3 separate regions of the Homo sapiens genome follow, and all the other regions are linked to region 1. Evidence: promoter capture Hi-C in 16 types of primary human blood cells and fetal thymus (Javierre and others, 2016). All regions are on one chromosome and are shown on one strand. Each heading gives the region's core, a stretch centred on a gene start or on the middle of the fragment in contact. The rest is flanking DNA. Distances are from core to core; before and after follow the strand shown. Region 1 holds the start of OSGEP (O-sialoglycoprotein endopeptidase). Region 2 has its middle 13 kb from the start of RNASE11. Region 3 overlaps TEP1 (telomerase associated protein 1).

Region 1 (2,812 bases), core at 152-2,651:
ACGGGCAGGAGAAAAATAAAACAGCCTGAAGGCTAAACGGAGAAAAGGGGTGACTAAACCCTAAGACCATTCAATACTAAAAAATGTCTCTTTCCCTCAAATTCCACTCACATCTAATCCTTTCTTCTTAATCCAGGCTCGAAGCCCATCCACATTCCAAGAGCAGATCTTGAGTGTGGCAGGTTTGCCACTGGGTGAGGTTTTCTGATCTGGGGGGTCCTCATACAGGGCTGGGCCCTCTCCTGCTGCCTCTTTGTCATTTTTCTTTGCGGCCGTCTTACTCTTCTTGGCCTCTGGCTCTATAAAATGAGTAATATATACTGACAAAAAGCTGGTGGTTTCCAACTGCGATCCGGCGTTAACTATAGACCCAACGAAAGCCTACGGTTCCTGCGACTTCTTCACAAACCCCTGCAAAAATGAGTCGGCCCGTACTTACCGTACATCAAGGGAATGACAAACACCCCCGCCGCAGCTTCTAGGAAGAAGGGCTGATTTCATTCCCTTACCTGTCCTGAGCTCATCCCCGTCTTCCGCCACCGCTCCCTTTTTCCCACGCTTCGGCATTCCCGTTACGAACGCCCTTGGGCAGCTGTACCGCGTCACCCACCGAAGCAATATTTTTACCGCGTTGCCTACAGACGCAAAGAAATCATGAAACCAGCTAAGGCTGGGGAGAAGACTCCTCCCAAGAGCGTCCCCGCACCAGGTCCCGCCTTTCAAACCACGTTATCTCTAAATCCTTTCCCCGCCTCCGTGCATCATAGGCCCTTCAGCCCCTCACCCACGAAACTAGATCATTTCATAGTGCCTTGTACCCTACTCGCGAGATCTGCCCTCCAGCCAATTGAGGATCTTAATTAAGGGTCCTGACTCAAGCTTGCCGTTCAGACTGCCAGCGAAGCCCCTCTTATGAGCAAAAGAGCAACCCCGTATCTGCACCGGCCCGATGGCAGCCTAGCTCCTCCTAACCCGAGCACAAAGAAGGGTGCACGCTGAGCCCCCACGTGGGTAGCGGACCTGGTCACGTGATCAGAGGCGCGCTTGTCGTGGCCGAAGAATGCGCGTGATTGGTCTGTCTGACACCACGTGACGGAGACGCTTAGCCTCGCCTCCCTCCTCTAATTCTCTAGGACACTTAGGTCCCCAACCCTCCCTCGGGCTGTTTATCGTTGTGCCAGATGCACAGCACATTGTGTGACACTGACTTAAGATTCTAACTATGTGCAAGAGGGAAAAAAACAGTGGAGAAGGCTGGGCTGGACCACGGGAAAGAGATAGGAAAACGGATACGAATGTAAGGCACAGAGTTGGCTCGGCGTCCCTGGCAGTTAGGAAGACAGGTCCCTGGAGGGGCCTTGGCGGGTCTCCGCTCGCGGGAGTTCCGCGGTGTCTTTCCCAGTGCTATCTGCAGGCTGGCCAGCTTCCTCTGCGCTCCGGAAAGCTGCGGCCCAGCGCGGACTAGTGAGGACCTCCACAGCTCCTGACATTGCCAGGAGTCCTGTCGGCGTTTTCTCCCAGCCTCCGCCATGCCGGCGGTGCTGGGTTTTGAAGGCAGCGCCAATAAGATTGGCGTGGGCGTGGTGCGGGATGGCAAGGTGCTGGCGAACCCGCGGCGGACTTACGTCACGCCTCCTGGCACAGGTTGGTGAGTAGGGGACTTAAGAGTTTTCCGCGCACTTCCCCGCACAGAATCAGCCTTCCATCTTCCTAAATACTAGTGAGGTGCAGCTTTCGATCCGAGTCTCATTGAAATTATGTGACATTATTAACGTCACAAGGCTGATGACTAGAAGAGTTACAGGCACTTGGACGTGGATCTGATGAGTTCATTTACCTTTTACTGAGCGCATTTTATGTGCTAAGTATTCAGAAATAGATGTTATACTGCTGTGGAGTCAGACATATAAATAGATGTTTATACTACAGCATGATAAACAGTATAATAGAGATGGACTCGAAATATTCTGTTTAAAAAACGCTTAGCAGGAGTATAGATTCCAGTTGCCCTGAATATACACTCCCTTTTTAAAAAAAAATTATTTTTTGAAATATTCTAGGATGAGTAGAGAGATGAGAGTGGAAAGACTCCCGGCTTACATGTCAGACAGAACTGGCTGGCTTTGCTATATTCATATTAAATATTTTTGTTTTGGACATTTGGTCTTTATTTTTTATTTTATTTTATTTTTTTGAGACAGAGTCTTGCTCTGTCGCCCAGGCTGGAATGCAGTGGCACGATCTCGGCTCACTGCAATCTCTGCCTTCCAGGTTCAAGCGATTCTTCTACCCCAGCCTCCCAAGTAGCTAGGACTATAGGTGTGCGCCACCACATCCAGCTAAATTTTGTATTTTTAGTAGAGTCGGGGTTTCCACCAGGCCAAGCTGGTCTCGAACTCCTGACCTCAGATGATCCGCCCACCCCAGCCTCCCAAAGTGTGGAAATTACAGGCATGAGCCACCGCTCGGGCCTGGTCTTTGTTTTTAAAATGGGAATAATACCTGTATCATTAGGTCTTGAAGATTAGATGAAAGTACCAAACACGGCTGGGCGTGGTGGCTCACGCCTGTAATCCCAGCACTTTGGGAGGCCAAGGCAGGCAGATCACCTGAGGTCGGGGTTCGAGACCAGCCTGACCAACATGGAGAAACCATGTTTCCACTAAAAAATACAAAAAATTAACTGGGCGTGGTGGCGCATGCCTGTAAACCCAGCTACTTGGGAGGCTGAGGCAGGAGAATTGCGTGAACCCGGGAGACAGAGGTTGCAGTGAGCCGAGATGGTGCCATTGCACTCCAGCCTGGGCATCAA
Region 2 (2,812 bases), core at 116-2,615, 120 kb before region 1:
TGTGGATTTGCTGGTGATAAATTCTTTGTTTTGTGTTTATTTTGCCTGAGTTTTTGAAAGATATTTTTGCAAAGTGTAGAATCTGCAGGAATTTCATTTTTCATACTTTCAGAACTTTAATGATGCTTTTGCACTGTATTCTTTCTTATGTTATTTCAGATGAAAAATCTAATGTCAAGTTTATCTTTGTTTCTCTGATCATAACGTATCTTCTTCTTTTTTTTTTTTCTTTAGACAGAGTTTCACTTTTGTTGCCCAGGCTGGAGTGCAATGGTACGATCTCGGCTCACCGCAACCTCTGCCTCCTGGATTCAAGCGATTCTCCTGCCTCAACCTCCCAAGTAGCTGGGACTACAGGCGTGCACCACCACGCCCAGCTAATTTTTGTATTATTAGTAGAGATGGGGTTTCACCATCTTGGCCAGGCTGGTCTTGAACTCCCAACCCCATGATCCACCTGCCTCGGCCTCCCAAAGTGCTGGGATTACAGGCATGAGCCACCGTGCCTAGCCTTCTTTTTTTCTTGAGACAGTCTTGCTCTGTTGCCCAGGCTGGAGTGCAGTGGCACGATCTCGGCTCACTACAACCTCTGCCTCCTGGGCTCAAACCATTTGTCCACCTCAGCCTCCAGAGTAGCTGGGACTACAGGCATGCTCCACTATGCCCTGCTAATTTTTATATTTTTAGTATAGATGAGGTTTCACCATGTTGGCCAGGCTGGTCTCAAACTCCTGACCTCAAGTGATCCACCTGCCTGGGCCTCCCAAAGTGCTGGGGTTACAGGTATGAACCACCATGCCTGGCGCTGACTATAACAATGTCTTTTTTTGTAAGATTGCTTCTAAGGTTTTCCCTATCACTGTTTTCTCCCCCTCTCACTTGGAGCATGATACACCTTGATGTTTTGTTCTTGGGACTTGCTGAGATTTTTGTATCTGTGAATGTATACTTTTCATCAAGTTTTGAAAGCTTTTGGCCATTATATCTTCAAAAAAATTTAATTTCCCCAGTTCTCCCCTTTAGAGACTCCAGGGCTACTTGCATTTATTGTATACTATTTTTTTCTTATGCAATTTCTAATCTGCCATTAATCGCAACCAGTGTATATTTTTTTTAATTTCACACACTGTAGTTTTTATTTCTAAAAGTTTGATTTTTTTTTTAATCATCTAAAACTCAACCCTTTCTTTTGCCTGTGTAGAATTCAGTTGTGGTAACTGTTTCTCTGTTAATTCTGAAATTTGTAATTGCTCTGGTTCGGTTTCCATTGACTGATTGTTCTCCTCATAAAGGTTTGTGTTTTCCTGCTCTTTTACATGCTTGGTAATCTTTGATTGGATTTCAGATGTTTTGAATTCTACATTGTTGGCTTACCTTGTAGGAATATTTGTATATTCCTATAAATCTTCTTGAGTGTTGTTCAAGGATACGTTTAAGCTACTTGGAACCACTTTGATCCTTTTGGATCTTGACTTTATGATTTGTTAGACAGCTCTGAAGAAGCGCTTAGTCCGGAGTTAATTATCGACCACTACTACCCAGATTAAGGGTGGGTCTGCCTGTCCCAGCCCACTGACTCAAATGTTAATCTCCTTTGGCAACACCCTCACAGACACACCCAGGATCAATCATTTACATCCTTCAATCCAATCAAGTTGACACTCGGTATTGACCATTACAGGAGCCCTGTGCAGATCTCTAAGGTTATGTCTCCATGCAGCTTTCTCATCTCACATGTTCTATCCTAAAGGCTCAAGCTTCTTTGACCTCTCAGTTTCATGTCCTGAACTCAGGTAGTCTGAAGACTCTAAGTTTACTCTTCCTTTACTTTTGCCTAAAATCTCTATAGACAGCAAGCTGAGTGATTGTAGGGCTCACCTTGTTTGGTTCCTCTCTCTCAATGATGAGTGTGTTTCGTGGCCTCAAGTTCAGTGTCTTGAAAATAAGTTTTAATGCTTTTTGTTAGTTTTTTTATGGTTTTGGATGGGGAAGTAAATCAGGTCTGTGTTATCCATCTTGGCTGGAAGATGTTCCCAGTCTTTTTTTTTTTCCTTTCTTTTTTAATTAATACATTATAATTGTATCTACTTATGAGATACACTGGATACTTCGATACATGCATACAATGTGTAATATCAAATTAGGGTAACTAGGATATCCACTACCTCAAACATTTATCATTTCTTTGTGTTGGGAACATTCCAAGTCTTTTCTTCTAGCTATTTTGAAATGTACAATAAATTATTGGTAACTATAGTCACCCTACTATGCTATTGAATGCTAGAAATTATTCCTTCTACTTAACTGTATTTTTTCTACCCATTAACTAGCCTTTCTTACCCCTCCTTTCCCACCCTTTCCCAGTCTCTGGTAACCATCATTCTACTTTCTACCTCCATGGGATCAACTTTTTGAGCTCCTGGATATGAATGAAATGTACAATATTTGTCTTTCTGTGACTGACTTATTTCACTTCACATAATGACCTCCAGTTCCATCCATGTTGCTGCAAATGACAGAAGTTCATTGTTTTTTTTATGGCTGAATAGTATTCCATTGTTTATATATATTACATTGTCTTTATTTGTTAATACATTGATGGGCACTTAGGTTAATTCTATAACTGGGCTATTGTAAATAGTGTTGCAATAAACATAAGCGTGCAGATACCACTTTGATATATTGATTTCCTTTCTTTTGGGTATATACCCAGCAGTGGGATTGCTGGATCATTTGTTAGTTTTATTTTTAGTTTTTTAAGGCATCTCCATACTGTTCTCTATAGTGGCTATACTAATTTACATTCCTACCA
Region 3 (2,812 bases), core at 95-2,594, 73 kb after region 1:
GGTTCTCCTTTTCTTTCTACCTTCCTGCCCCTTTGCCCAAATATCACAGTGTGTACACCTGGTGCTGAGTGTGTCTAGTGATGCAGGCCTAGGGGAGACCCTTGAGCAGAGCCAGGGTGCCCACGTGCTGGCCTTGGGGCCTCTGGAGGCCTCTGCTCGGGCCCGGCTGGTGAGAGAGGAGCTGGCCCTGTACGGGAAGCGGCTGGAGGAGTCACCATTTAACAACCAGGTTGGGTTCTAGGCCGGGGCCGGTGGGTGTGTGGGGTGAATCTGGGAGCTATGAGGACCTGGGGTGCCGAGGCCGCTAGCTGCCTTGCACAGACCTGCTCCTTTGTTTTCTCAGAAATTCTGTCCATGGGAAGTTGTTAATAAGAAAATTGTGATTCCTGATCATGTCACCCAGCCCTCTTCCCCCGGTGAATGGCCTTTCCAGGGCCTCTCGGGGTGAGGGGATGAGTCAAGTGGTTTTTGGTGGGGTAGGCCGAGCCACAGGGGTTTTCTGGCAGGGCTGGCTGGGCAGAGCAGCGTAGGAGAGGGATGGTTTGTGTCCTGGGATGATGCCATGGACCTGGCGTCTGCTGGGGACTCTCAGAGGAGGAGCTGCCTGGCAGAGGGGCTGGTGCTGGGGCAGAGGGCTGGCTGCGGGCAGCCCTCCTGGACCCCACCCTGAGTCCTGAGTCTTGCCAGATGCGACTGCTGCTGGTGAAGCGGGAATCAGGCCGGCCGCTCTACCTGCGCTTGGTCACCGATCACCTGAGGCTCTTCACGCTGTATGAGCAGGTCAGTTCTCATCACCTTCCAAGTCCTAATCACTACTTCCCATTCTCTCTTCAGCTGCTTTGTCTCATCCCTATCCCACGTCCTTTGCTGTCTTGTGATCACCCACTCCCTATCCTCGCCTCATACCTCGCCTCACTTCCCTCCTACTGTTGTTCTTTACTTTTTCATTCCTCCACACTGTCCTCCTGCTGCCCCTTCCCTATCCCACAAGCCAAGCTGCTTCTCCTCCCACTGCACTGAACAAGGCTGTCCTCCCGCCATCCTAGGTGTCTGAGAGACTCCGGACCCTGCCTGCCACTGTCCCCCTGCTGCTGCAGCACATCCTGAGCACACTGGAGAAGGAGCACGGGCCTGATGTCCTTCCCCAGGCCTTGACTGCCCTAGAAGTCACACGGAGTGGTCAGTGCTTGGGGTGGGTTGGTTGGGAGGCTGAGGGCCAGGGTTCGGATTACATTGGTTCCCTTGGGGTCTCAGCAGGCAGTTCAAGGAGAGACTGGGTGTGGTGGGGGCGGGGACACCGTATGGTTAGATGAGGGCCTCAGAGAGCTTGAGTTTTCAGGTTTGACTGTGGACCAGCTGCACGGAGTGCTGAGTGTGTGGCGGACACTACCGAAGGGGACTAAGAGCTGGGAAGAAGCAGTGGCTGCTGGTAACAGTGGAGACCCCTACCCCATGGGCCCGTTTGCCTGCCTCGTCCAGAGTCTGCGCAGGTACAGGTGCCCCAGCAGAGCTCCCGCTGACCTCTCTGTGCCTTCCCTTCTTTGAGCCGGGGCCCTCTGTATAGCTTCAACAACTGGCTCCCAGACCATGAATGAGCTACTGCTCCAGCTGCTCCAGTTTCCGCTATTTGAGGGGGGAATAGGAGCCCACTGTGTGCCAGGAAGCTCACTGACAGGCCTCTTCCTTCTTCTCTCTCCCTTCCTCACACGAGGACAGTTTGCTAGGGGAGGGCCCTCTGGAGCGCCCTGGTGCCCGGCTGTGCCTCCCTGATGGGCCCCTGAGAACAGCAGCTAAACGTTGCTATGGGAAGAGGCCAGGGCTAGAGGACACGGCACACATCCTCATTGCAGGTGATTGCAGCCCAAGTCAGCCTGGGCACTGAGTGTGGGGCTTGGGCCTGGAGGCCAGGACCACCCACTGTGCTCCCATCTGCTGGCCAGCTCACCTACTGCCCTTGGGAATGATGCAGGGCTGAGCCTTTCTCAATATCTGTTCATGCAGCTCAGCTCTGGAAGACATGTGACGCTGATGCCTCAGGCACCTTCCGAAGTTGCCCTCCTGAGGCTCTGGGAGACCTGCCTTACCACCTGGTTAGTTCCTAGACCCCATAGACACCTTTCCCAAAGTGAGTGCTTTGGTTGCTCTGAGACCCCTCTCCCCGTTACCATCTCCACCATCACCGCCGCCATTACCCCTCCCAAACTCCCTTGACCTCTTTCCTTTCAGTTTTCCTGCCCTTCTTCTTCAAGTCCTTTGTCCCAGCTCAGATCCTATCTCTGTATCCAGGTTCTGAGACTAAACTGTCCCTTCTCACCAGCCCCTTCATATCCCTAATGAATTCAATCTGACCTTCTCAGCTCCAGAGCGGGAACCGTGGACTTCTTTCGAAGTTCCTTACCAACCTCCATGTGGTGGCTGCACACTTGGAATTGGGTCTGGTCTCTCGGCTCTTGGAGGCCCATGCCCTCTATGGTGAGATGAGTCACTGGCTGGGTTCTTCTCTGAGATATGGGACTCCTGGGTGTGCTTATGGGGGCCCTGCTCAGGGTTGGGGCAGGGGTGTGGGTGTCAGGGAAAAAAGATTCAAATTTCCATTTCGAGTTGAAAATGCCAAGAGGGTGAGCACGTGACTCTCAGGAGACCTTTCACCTTGATCTCTTGGACCAGAGATTCTTCAACTTTATTTAGTTAGCATAAAACTATCTAGGAAACTTGTTCAAATTGCAGATCCTTGGGTCTCCATATTCTGGTTTCCTAGGTTTGGAGTGGGGCTCAAAGCTTTGTACTTTTAAGAGATATTCCTGATATAGGG

The links. Contacts are between HindIII fragments. The CHiCAGO score rates a contact against its expected background, and 5 or more counts as called.
Region 2: a fragment that was not itself captured here is called in contact with the fragment with the promoter of OSGEP in region 1 in 1 of 17 cell types (megakaryocytes); the score reaches 5.6 in megakaryocytes.
Region 3: a contact is called between a fragment that was not itself captured here and the fragment with the promoter of OSGEP in region 1, in 5 of 17 cell types (M1 macrophages, M2 macrophages, endothelial precursors and 2 more). The highest score is 7.8, in M1 macrophages.

Annotation. Positions count from the first base shown.
Region 1 is chr14:20,453,401-20,456,212 of GRCh38, reverse strand. OSGEP (O-sialoglycoprotein endopeptidase) reads left to right here and starts at 1,401. Exons shown (of 11, transcript NM_017807.4): 1 at 1,401-1,644. The coding sequence starts at 1,530. APEX1 (apurinic/apyrimidinic endodeoxyribonuclease 1) reads right to left here and starts at 987. Exons shown (of 5, transcript NM_001641.4): 1 at 819-987; 2 at 510-635; 3 at 112-299. The coding sequence starts at 567. RefSeq lists enhancers at 724-943, 1,364-1,453, cis regulatory regions at 1,005-1,010, 1,026-1,031, 1,044-1,076, 1,087-1,092, 1,089-1,130 and 2 more, promoters at 878-1,212, 877-1,414, 1,044-1,488 and a silencer at 2,751-2,812. The HindIII fragment of the contact is 3,687 bases long and covers 882-2,812 here.
Region 2 is chr14:20,573,839-20,576,650 of GRCh38, reverse strand. No RefSeq gene overlaps it. Among named protein-coding and RNA genes, the nearest start is that of RNASE11, 13 kb to the left of the region's middle. The HindIII fragment of the contact is 788 bases long and covers 972-1,759 here.
Region 3 is chr14:20,380,591-20,383,402 of GRCh38, reverse strand. TEP1 (telomerase associated protein 1) reads left to right here. Exons shown (of 55, transcript NM_007110.5): 27 at 50-229; 28 at 688-780; 29 at 1,047-1,179; 30 at 1,340-1,490; 31 at 1,717-1,850; 32 at 2,002-2,090; 33 at 2,358-2,472. Among named protein-coding and RNA genes, the nearest start is that of TEP1, 32 kb to the left of the region's middle. The HindIII fragment of the contact is 2,872 bases long and covers 1-2,780 here.